Regions from separate parts of the Homo sapiens genome. Here region 2 is linked to region 1. The links are contacts of gene promoters, found by promoter capture Hi-C in human tissues and cell types (Jung and others, 2019). All regions are on one chromosome and are shown on one strand. Each heading gives the region's core, a stretch centred on a gene start or on the middle of the fragment in contact. The rest is flanking DNA. Distances are from core to core; before and after follow the strand shown. Region 1 holds the start of OR1I1 (olfactory receptor family 1 subfamily I member 1). Region 2 overlaps CYP4F8 (cytochrome P450 family 4 subfamily F member 8).

Region 1 (5,244 bases), core at 2,120-4,619:
ATACCAGAGAAACTCAGAGTCAATTTTATGTTCTCACCACCAAGAAATGATAGGTACAGATGTTCTGAGGCTGATAATGGGGTCATACATTGAAAATGTCATAAGTCAGACCTGGCGTGGTGGCTCATTCTTATAATCCCAGCACTTTGGGAGGCCGAGGCAGGGGGATCACCTGAGGTCAGGAGTTTGAGAGGTCAGCCTGGCCAACAAGGTGAAGCCCCGTCTCTACTGAAAATACAAAATTAGCTAGGCGTTGTGGTGCATGCCTGTAATCCCAGCTACTTGGGAGGCTGAGGCAGGAGAATCGCTTGAACCTGGGAGGCAGAAGTTGCAGTGGGCTGAGATTGAGCCACTGTACTCCAGCCTTGGCAACAAGAGCGAAACTCTGTCTCAAAAAAAAAAATATATATATATATATATATATATATATATATATATATATATATATAAGTCAAAAATGCATTGAACATACCTAACCTACCAAACATCACAGCTTAGCCTAGCCCACCTTCAATGTGCTCAGAACACTTACGTTAGCCTACAGTTAGGCAAAATTATCTAATACAAGATCTATTTAATTTAATTTAATTTATTTTGAGACAGGGTCTCACTCTGTCACCCAGGCTGCAGTGCGGTGGCACAATCACAGCTCACTGCAGCCTGTACCTCCTGAGCTCAGGTGTTCCTCCCACCTCAGCCTTCCTAGTAGCTGGGACAGGTGTTTTTATTTTGCCCTCAGCAATAATGATATCTGTAATGGGTTAAACCTTCTTAGGAGCCAGTTTCTTTCTTTTTTTTTCCCCCAGCTATTGGCTGCTCAGCATGATTTTTATTTTATTTAATTTTATCATTTTATTTTAAGTTCCAGGATACACGTGCAGGACGTGCAGGTTTGTTACATAGGTAAACGTGTGCCATAGTGGTTTGCTGCACCTATCAAGCCATCACCTCGGTATTAAGCCCAGCATGCATTAGCTATTTATCCTGATGAGGAGCCGGTTTCTTTCTTTCTTTTCTTTTTTGAGATGGAGTCTTACTCTGTCACCCAAGCTGGAGTGCAGTGGCGCGATCTTGGCTCACTGCAACCCCCGCCTCCTGGGTTCAAAAGATTCTCCTGCCTCAGCCTCCTGAGTAGCTGGGATGACAGGCGAGCACCACCACGCATGGCTAATTTTTGTATTTTTAGTAGAGATGGGGTTTCACCATGTTTGTCAGACTGGTCTTGAACTCCTGACCTCATCATCTGCCCGGCTTGATCTCTCAAAGTGCTGGGATTACAGGCGTGAGCCACTGCAGCCAGCCAGGAGCCAGTTTCTTAATGCATAGGTCTTACAATAACTCCCACAGGGAGATTGTGTTAGCTACAATTTACAGTGAGCAGACTGGGGCTGAGCGAGCTGCCAGGGGCACTCAGCTTGCAAGTGCCTGATCTCGCCTTTGAATTTAGACTTATTTTCACTCTCATACTCCACTGCCTCCCTAAGAATGGCCACTCTCACCTCTTTATGAGGCATTTCGAAGCTAAATTCTGTGCTGTCAACACGTGCAAGGGAAAAATATTCAATTACAAGCATTTACACGTGTTTCTTTTCGAGACAGAGTCTCACTCTGTCACCTAGGCTAGAGTACAGTGGCACGATCTCGGCTCACTGCAACATCCGTCTCCTGGGTTCAAGTGATTCTTGTGCCTCAGCCACCCGAATAGCTGGGATTACAGGTGTGCATCACCACGCCCGATTAATTTTTGTATTTTTAGTAGAGACGGGGTTTCGCCTCTACTAAGCCTGTTGGCCAGGCTGGTCTTGAACTCCTGACCCGGTGATCCGCCCACCTTGGCCTCCCAAAGTACTGAGATTACAGGCGTGAGCCCAGTAATCTCATCATTTCAGCGCCCAGCCGATGAAAGGGGTTTTTAGGAAGGTTAGCAGCATAATCTCCTTGGTAACCCCAAGAGGCCTTCAGCAAAGCCCTATGTTAACTTTTTGAGGCTTTTTAGTGTTGGACTTGAGGTTTTTGCAATGCAATGCTTGGTTTTCTCTAGGCTGGATAGAATACTGCGATTCCCTTCCTGGCAACATATTTGTAACAGTCCTCAGTTGTTGACTTGGGTTGCATAGAGCAGCGGTTCTCAACCTTGAGCACGCTTCAGGGTCACCTGGAAGGCTTGTTAAAACACAAAAAGCGGGCCAGGCATGGTGGCTCACACCTGTAATCCCAGCACTTTGGGAGGCTGAAGTGGGAGAATTGCTTGAGGCCAGGAGTTCAAGACCAGCCTGGCAGACAAAGTGAGGCCACCCCACCCCCAATCCCGCCCTGGATCTACAAAAAATAAAACAATCTGCTGGGCATGGTGGCATGCTTCCATAGTCCCAGCTACTCAGAAGGCTGAGGTGGGAGAATCCCTTGAGTCCAGGAGTTAGAGACCAACCTGGGCAACACAGTGAGACCCCCATCTCTACAAAATAAAAAATTAGCTGGACATGGTGGCACACACCTGTTAGTCCCAGCTGCTTGGGGGGCCAAGGTAGGAGGATCTCTTGAGCCCGGGAGTGTGAGACCATCCTGGGCAACATAGGAAGATCCCTGCCTCTACGAAAATAAAATTAGCCAGGCATGGTGGTATATGTCTGTTATCCCAGGTACCCGGGAGGCTGAGGAGGGAGGATCACTTGAGCTTGGGAGGTCGAGGCTGCGATGAGCTATGATAATGCCACTGCACTCCAGACTGGGCAACAGAGCGAGACCCTGTCTCAAAAACAGAAAGAACAAACAAACAAACAAAACAATCCCCCCGCCCCCTCCCCCCCGCTCCCAAACTCATCATACACAAAAAGCTAAGCCCTTTCCCTGAAATGTCTGGTGTAAGAACCAGCACTTCTAGATAGTTTCCAGAGGATGCTGGTGCTTCTAGCCCAGGGACCACACTTGGGGAGCTGCTGCATTGGAGAAACTTGTTTCTCAAGACCTCTCCTATCTGTGCAGGTGTCCTGCAGCTGCAGACCCTCAGTGCTTTTCCTCCACATATCCTGCCACAGAGGGTCTGCCGTCTGCGTGCTTTGTCCACTCAGAGAGTCTAGACTTGGTCTCAGTCTCTTCTCTCTCTCTCGGCCTCTAGGAAGGAGACAGATTCCTCTCCCACAACCCTCCACCCCCACCCTCAGCTCAATCCTTTCCCCATCCCTCACCTGCTCACCAGGATGGCATCACCAAGGGGAGGGTCCCGGGAAGCCTCCTTCTCCACCAACTGCTAGAGGATCCCGAGGTCAGCACTAAACCCCTAGGAAGGGCATGGGGGCTACTCACCTGTGATCGCTGGGGTTAGCCTGATGTCTATGGGAAGGATTCATATGTGTACCCCCCCGCCCCCAGACTCTGCAGGTGAGTGGGGGAGCCAGGGGAACATCAGGGTATTTATAGTCTGGGGACTCTAGGAGACTTCGTCCCCATAGCTCCTTGTTAAGGAAGCGGATGCTAATTATTTTGTTTCTCCTCTGCCACATGTGACCTGTTCTTTTGGAGATGGGTGTGCTTTGGGATCATCGAGTGGGTAAGAAGAGGAAACAGTGACTAGGGATTCACTCTCACTAGGACATCTCCCTACGGTCTCCTTCCAGCTCAGGCTGAGCTTCATGGAAGCTCCCAGGCAGAGAGGTCTGGGGGGTCCCAGACTCCAGTCGGGCACTCAGATGCCTGAATCTGAGAGGTCCTTTCATTCATTGCATTATGGAAGAAACTGGCTCATTAAGGAAAGCTCCGAAGAGTATCAATCAATCAATAAATCGGTATTAAATAAATAAATTTATCAAACACTTTTTTTTGAGATGGAGTGTCACTCTTTCACCCAGCCTGGAGCACAGTGGAGCAATCTCGGCTCACTGCAACCTCCACCTCCTGGGTTCTAGCAATTCTCCCTCCTCAGCCTCTTGAGTAGCTGGAATTACTGGTGCCCACCACCATGCCCAGCTAGTCTTTGTATTTTTAGTAGAGACAGGGTTTCACCATGTTGGAAAGACTGATCTCAAACCTCAAGTGATCTGCTCTCCTCGGTCTCCCAAAGTGCTGGGATTACAGGCCTGAGCCACTGTACCCGGCCTATCAAACACTTCTTGATCACCTGCTTGGCACTGGAGTTGGACACGGTGGCTCATGCCTATAATCCTAGCTACTTGGGAGGCCAAGGTTGGAGAATCCCTTGAGCCTAGAAGTTTGAGACCAGCTTGGGCAAAACAGCAAGACCTTATATCTACAAAAAATTTAAAAAAATTAGCCAGGATTGGTGGCACATGCCCGTGGTCTCAGTTACCCAGGAGGCTGAGGTGGGAGGATCACTTGAGCCCTGGAGGTTGAGGCTGCAGTGAGCTGTGATCGCACCACTGCATTCCAACCTGGACAACGGAGTGAGACCCTGTCTCTTAAAAAAAAAATCCTTCCTATCAGCCACACAGAACGTGTGTAGGATACTTGTTGAAATTCTCCTAGGGGCTTTAGTAAATATTAGAATTACTTTCCCTAATAATATTGGCTGTTGGACTGTTGGCTCTTGGATCGTAACTCTGTGGGGAGGTCAGCTTCAAAGCAAGAACAAGGTAGACCAACTTCGCGTTGGACATATGGGGATATGAGTAGGTGCCAATCCCACTGTCATTATTTTTTTAAAATTAAAATTATTTTCAGAGGCTGGGCATGGTGGTTCACACCTGTAATCCTAGCACTTTGGGAGGCCGAGGCAGGTGGATCAATTTAGCTCAGGAGTTTGAGACCAGCCCGGCCAACATGGTGAAACCCTGTCTCTACTAAAAATACAAAATTAGCTGGACGTGCCTATAGTCCCAACTACTCAGGAGGCTGAGGTGGGAGGATCCCTTGAGCCCGGGAGGTGAAGTTTGCAGCAAGTTGAGATCATGCCACTGCACTCCAGCCTGGGTGACAGAGTGAGACCTTGTCTCAAAAAAAAAAAAAAAATCAATTTGAGCCCAAAGGTTGGGGAAAAACCCACCTAAAAAGTCCATAAGGTGGCCAGACATGGTGGCTCACACCTGTAATCCCAGCACTTTGGGAGGCTGAGGCGGGTGGATCACTTGAGGTCGGGAGTTCGAGACCAGCCTGGGAAAAATGGTGAAACCCAGTCTCTACTAAAAGTACAAAAATTAGCTGGGCATGGTGGGTGGGCATCTGTAATCCTAGCTACTTGGGAGGCTGAGGCAGGAGAATCACTTGAACCTGGGAGGCGAAGATTGCAGTGAG
Region 2 (5,617 bases), core at 2,133-4,632, 550 kb before region 1:
CTGCGGTATGTAAACTACCCATATATTGAGTAGAAAGACAAAAAATAGTTGTTATCTATTGCTTTGAAAATGAAATCTTTACCCCAAAACTTATTTGATGAAGTTACTCAATTTGTAACCAATGATACCTCAAACTGTCAACTTGTATGAAGACAATTCTTGCAACGTGAGACAAAGCACTTTTATATCATTTTGTAACATCACGCCATTTTTAAGAAATAGAGTGGTTTGAATACATAACCCAAATATTTGTTAAAACCACAAAATAATGTTTCATAAAATGATTTGATGTCATGGAAAGATGTTAACAGCATATCGTGTGAGTAGCCCAAATTAACAAAAATTTGAGATAAAATAGCATTTTTTGTTTGGGTAAAATTCACAAAACATAAAATTCACCATTTTAAAGGGTACAATTTAGTAGCATTTGGTATATGCACAGTGTTGTGGAAACTTCACCACTATCTAGGTCCAGAACATCTTCACCACCCAGCAGGAAATCCTGACCCCATTAGCACTTCCTCTTCCCACTTCCCCACAGCTCCTGACACCACCAATCTCCTTTCTGTCTCTATAGATTTGCCTATTCTGGACATTTTTTTTTTTGAGACAGAGTCTCACTCTGTTGCCCAGACTGGAGTGCAGTGGCGTGATGGCATGATCTCAGCTCACCACAACCTCCACTTCCTGGGTTCAAGTGATTCTCCTGCCTCAGCCTCCCAAGTAACTTGGATTACAGGCATATCCCATGACGCCCAGCTAATTTTTCTTGTATTTTTAGTAGCGACGGGGTTTCACCCTGTTGGCCAGGCTGCTCTTGAACTCCTGACCTCAAGTGATCTGCCTGCCTGGGCCTCCCAAAGTGCTGGGATTACAGGCATGAGCCACCACACCCAGATGGACATTTCTTATAAATAAATCATACACTATGTGACCTTTTGTGTCTGACTTCTTTCACATACTATAATGTATTCAAGGTTCATCCAGGTGGTAGTATGTATCAGTACTTCATTCCTTTTAATGGCTGAGTAATATTTCATTATACGAATAGATCACATTTTCTTTATCCATCCATCTGTTAATGGATATTTGAGTTCTTTCTACCTTTTGGCAATTGTGAATAGGGCTGCTATAAGCACGAATGTACAAGCTTTTTTGTTTGAACAACTGTTTTCTATTCTTTTGAGTATATAGCTAGGAGCTTAATATGATATCGTGGAATTGCATCATATAGTAATTCTATGTTTTAGTTTTTCAGAATCTCCAGACTGTTTTCCACAGCAGCTGCACCATTTTTACAGTCACACCAGGAATGGATGAGGGCTTCGATTACTCCATATCCTCTCCAACATTTGTTATATTCCCTTTTTTAGATGCTAGCCATCCTGTAGGTGTTGAGGTGACATCACGTTGTGCTTTTGGTTTGCATAATGGGAATAATGTTTAGCATCTTTTCATGTGCTCATTTGGCAGGAAAATAGCACTTGTAAACAAAATTACATGCAAATGTGATATGACACAGCTATATAGATGTAAATAAACATTTTCATATGTAAAAAGATCACATATGAATTAAAAACTGGAAGCATATGCAAGAAAATATAAACAGTGATTATTCTGACATTTTGAAATTATGGATGATTTTTATTTCTTGCAATTTCTTCTATAAGCATGCATTATTTATGAAACTTAAACTTTAAAGGGAAGAAAAATTGACTTTCAGCATAGAATATATTAAATAGTTATTTATTTCGTTTTGCAATGTTCCATTCTTATTTTGCAGCCAATAATCCTTCCAGGTTCCCAATCTATGGGCCCCTGAAAAGCGCTCAGTCCTTGGACTCTGCGCCCCGCAGGAGCCCCCTACAGTCAGACAGGGGAAAGTCCAGGTGCAGCCGCTGTCCCTGGTGCTGAAAGGGGCGGCCCCTCCCCCCCCCCGCCCGCCCCCCGCCCAGCCCACACCCTCTACCTTCCTCTCACTTGAAAACCTTCATGACCTGAACTTTTTAGACAGGAATAAATTCTGAGTCGTGCCTCTCTGGAAAAATTAATTTTTTCCGTTCTAAGCTTTGGGCCAACCTTTCACCAAAGTCCACTGTAGATTCTCGGATGTAATAACGGATATTTTGAGCACACAAAACATTCGAATGAATTTTCCTCAAGAGAAGGTTGCCATGCATCCCAAAGCTTGAAGCAACCTCTTGCGATTTTTTAAAATGTCAAAACTTCAAATGTGATGCAAAAAGAAGAGAAAGAGAGGCAATTAACCCTCATGGACCGCTAATACCCAACAGATGTGGCTCAGGGATGTTGTAGATACTGGCTTGTTCAGTCTTCCAGCAGCCCAATGAGGTGAATACTATTAAGTGGTAAACAAAACCAGGGCTACAGAGATAAACAAGTTTTCCCCAAGCCAATCAGCTAGTGAATAGCAGACTGGGATTCTGACATTTATAATACAACTTCAAGGTGATGTTTAGTACAATTCCAAGGGGATATGGATTATCTTAGCCCATTCAGGCTGCTATGACAACATAACTTACACTAGGTAGTTTATAAACAACAGGTATTTATTGCTTACAATTTTGGAGGCTGGGAAGTCCAAGATCAAGGTGCCTGCAGGTTCAGTGTCAACTAAGGGCCTGTTCCTCATAGATGGCACCTTGCACGTGTCTTTACATGGTGGAAGGGGCAAACAAGCTCCCTCAGGTCTCTGTTATAAGGGGTAATCTCACTTACGAAGGCAGAGCCCTCACAACTTAATCACCTCCCAAAGGCCTCCCCTCTTAATACCACCATATGCAGACTAGGCTTCAATGTATGGATTTGGGGGCTACATAAACATTCAGGTCACAGCATGGATCTAGGGTCATAGACCCTGACTGCTTCTAGCCATCTGCCCCATCTGCCCTAAATAGCAGTCCCTGTCCTCATGAGCCAAGATGGAGCTCCAGAGGCCACATCAATCTTGCAAGCAATTTGTTAAAAAGTCAAAAAATAGCAGATGTTGCCAAGGCTATGGAGAAAAAGGAACATTTATACACTGTTGGTGGAAATATAAATTAGTTCAGCCACTAAACTAATGGAGTGTGGAGAGCAGTTAGGATATTTCTCAGAGAATTGAGAGTTGAACTACCATTTGACCTAGCAATCCCACGACTGGGTATACACCCAAAAGAAAATAAATCATTCTGCCAAAAAGACACAAGCATCCACATGTTTATCGCAGCTCTAATCACAATAGCGAAGATGCTGAATCAACACAGGTGCCCATCAATGGTGGAGTGGATAAAGAAAATGTGTAGAAATACACCATGAAATACTATGCAGTCATTAAAAAGTACAAAATCATGTCGTTTGCAGCAACATAGATGCAGCTGGGGGCCATTATCCTAAGCAAACTAATGCAGGAACAGAAAACAAAATATTGCATGTTCTCACTTATAAGTGGGAGGTATGCATTGGATACACATGGTAATAAAGATGGGAACAACAGATCCTGGGGACTACTAGACAGGGGAAGCAGGGAGGGGGAAAAGCTGAAAAACTGCCTATTAGATACTATGCTCACTACATGGGTGATGGAGTCATTCATACTCCAAACCTCAGCATGATGCAATATACCTTTGTAATAAATTTGCATGTTAGCACCTGATTCTAAAATAAACATTGAAACTCAAGAATTTTTATTCTCACACCTGCAATTCTGGCACTTTGGGAGGCTGAGGTGGGCTGATCACTTGAGGCCAGGAGTTTGAGACCAGCCTGGCCAACATAGCAAAACCCCATCTGTACTAAAAATACAATTAGCCGGGTGTGGTGGTAGGCGCCTGTTATCCTATCTACTCAGGCGACTGAGTCAGGAGAATCACTTGAACCCAGGAGGTGGAGGTTGCAGTGAGCCACTGCACTCCGGCCTGGGCGACGAGAGACACCATGTCTCAAAAAAAAAAAAAAATCTTCCAAGCAGCAGGAAGGAAGAGGGGAGGACTGAGCAGACAGACTGTAGCAGCTTTCTCTTAAGAAAGGTTACCAGAATTACCACATAATCTTTGGCTTCTACACATGGGACAGCCACAGTCACTTAACCAATTGAGCTTCAAGAAAGGCTTTCAAATGTGATCTGTATTTCAGGCTGCTATGCACCTAGCTAAAAAACAGGGATTCTAAATTGGCAAAAATTTATATCAGAATACACAATTATTTTGGGGGGGAAAAAGTCTTTACTTAGACTCTGGGAGATCCCACCCTCAGCACGGGGCTCCTGTGCTCACCCAGAGAGGCAGTGAGTATCTTGGGCACAGAGACATCTCCCCGCCTCTTCCCAGCCAGGCCCTAGATCCCCGCAGTCCTCCAGCGCCCCCTACTGGCCATCCGCGGGACTGAGGCACAGGGGCCAACACAGATTTATTACCGGAAATCTGAAAAGGTAGTTGGTGCAAAGGTAGGTGATGCAAAGGTAGGTGGGTGGGTCACTGCAGGCCTCAGCCCAGGGGTTCTACTCGCAGCCAAAGTCCGTCCTCCGCACGCAAAACAATCTCCGGCGTCCTGCGTGGCTCCCTGTGGTCGGGCAGGATGCGGAAGCGCAGCAGCGTGAGCGCCAGGACCACCTTCATCTCTGCCATCGCGAACTTCTGCCCGATGCAGTTCCTGGGGGCCAAGGTGGAAGGTCTGACTGCACCCAGGACCCAGATCCCGGCCCCACTGCGCCAGGAACCAGGCCCGGAACCCCCAACCCCACCCAGATCACCTTGGGCAGACAGGGGGGAAGCTGGGTCTGGGACCCCCATGTGGGCTTGCATATTCCCAGAGCCTAGCCCAGACCCCAGCCCCAACTGAAACCAGACGGGGCAGGAGGCTCTGAGCACACCCTTTTTCCTAGGATCTTCTTTAAAACCCCTATCACAGAAACACGTGGTCCTACAAGTCAGGCATCTGACAAGGCAGCCATCTGTGCCACCCTCAGCCCATGCCCACCTCAGACACCCCCTGGCCTCACCTGGGCCCCGCCGAGAAAGGAATAAAAGCCATAGGTGACCTCTTCTGGGCGTTTTCTGGGTCGAAGCGGAAGGGGTCATAGACCTGGGGTGGAGGCAAGTTAAGGCTGCTGATGGGGCCTCTCAGGACACCCAGCCACCCCCACATAAAACAGATGTGGGTGGAGTAGAGAGGGAGTATCTGGTTTTCCGGGACAAGACCCCTCCCCCGACCAGGCCCGGGGGATGGAGAAACAGGGAGGGGCAGCACCTCAGGGTCTGGCCAGACTGAGGGGTTGTGATGGATTGCGAAGATGTTGATGTTACAGACATTCCCTGTCGTGCAGGAGAGGACAGTAAGAACAAGGTCCGAGCTGCCTGCTGGGACCACCGCCCTGCCCAGGACCCTCCTCCCCTGCCATGGAGGGCACCTTTGGGGATGACTCGGCTGTCTGGGAGCACCACGTCCTGGGTGCAGCCGCGGGCGAATGTAGGGATTGGGGGATGCAACCGCAGGCTCTCCTTCAGGCACATGGTCAGGAAGGGCAACTGGGCCAGGTCGTCCCTAAGGAAACACCCAACAATTATCCAGAGAGCATACACGGCCCTCCTGCTGCCCCTGGAGACCCTCTCACCACCTC

The links. The method cuts DNA at HindIII sites, captures the fragments that hold promoters and counts their contacts. A contact is called where the count stands out against the background at its distance.
Region 2: a fragment that was not itself captured here is called in contact with the fragment with the promoter of OR1I1 in region 1 in 2 of the 25 tissues and cell types used here (aorta and bladder).

What each region holds. Positions count from the first base shown.
Region 1 is chr19:15,080,336-15,085,579 of GRCh38, reverse strand. OR1I1 (olfactory receptor family 1 subfamily I member 1) reads right to left here and starts at 3,369. Exons shown (of 2, transcript NM_001004713.2): 1 at 3,304-3,369. The HindIII fragment of the contact is 16,029 bases long and covers 1-5,244 here.
Region 2 is chr19:15,628,226-15,633,842 of GRCh38, reverse strand. CYP4F8 (cytochrome P450 family 4 subfamily F member 8) reads right to left here. Exons shown (of 13, transcript NM_007253.4): 10 at 5,408-5,541; 11 at 5,248-5,312; 12 at 5,000-5,082; 13 at 3,204-4,650. The coding sequence ends at 4,485. Among named protein-coding and RNA genes, the nearest start is that of CYP4F3, 9.9 kb to the left of the region's middle. RefSeq lists a silencer at 4,228-4,277. The HindIII fragment of the contact is 7,008 bases long and covers 1-5,617 here.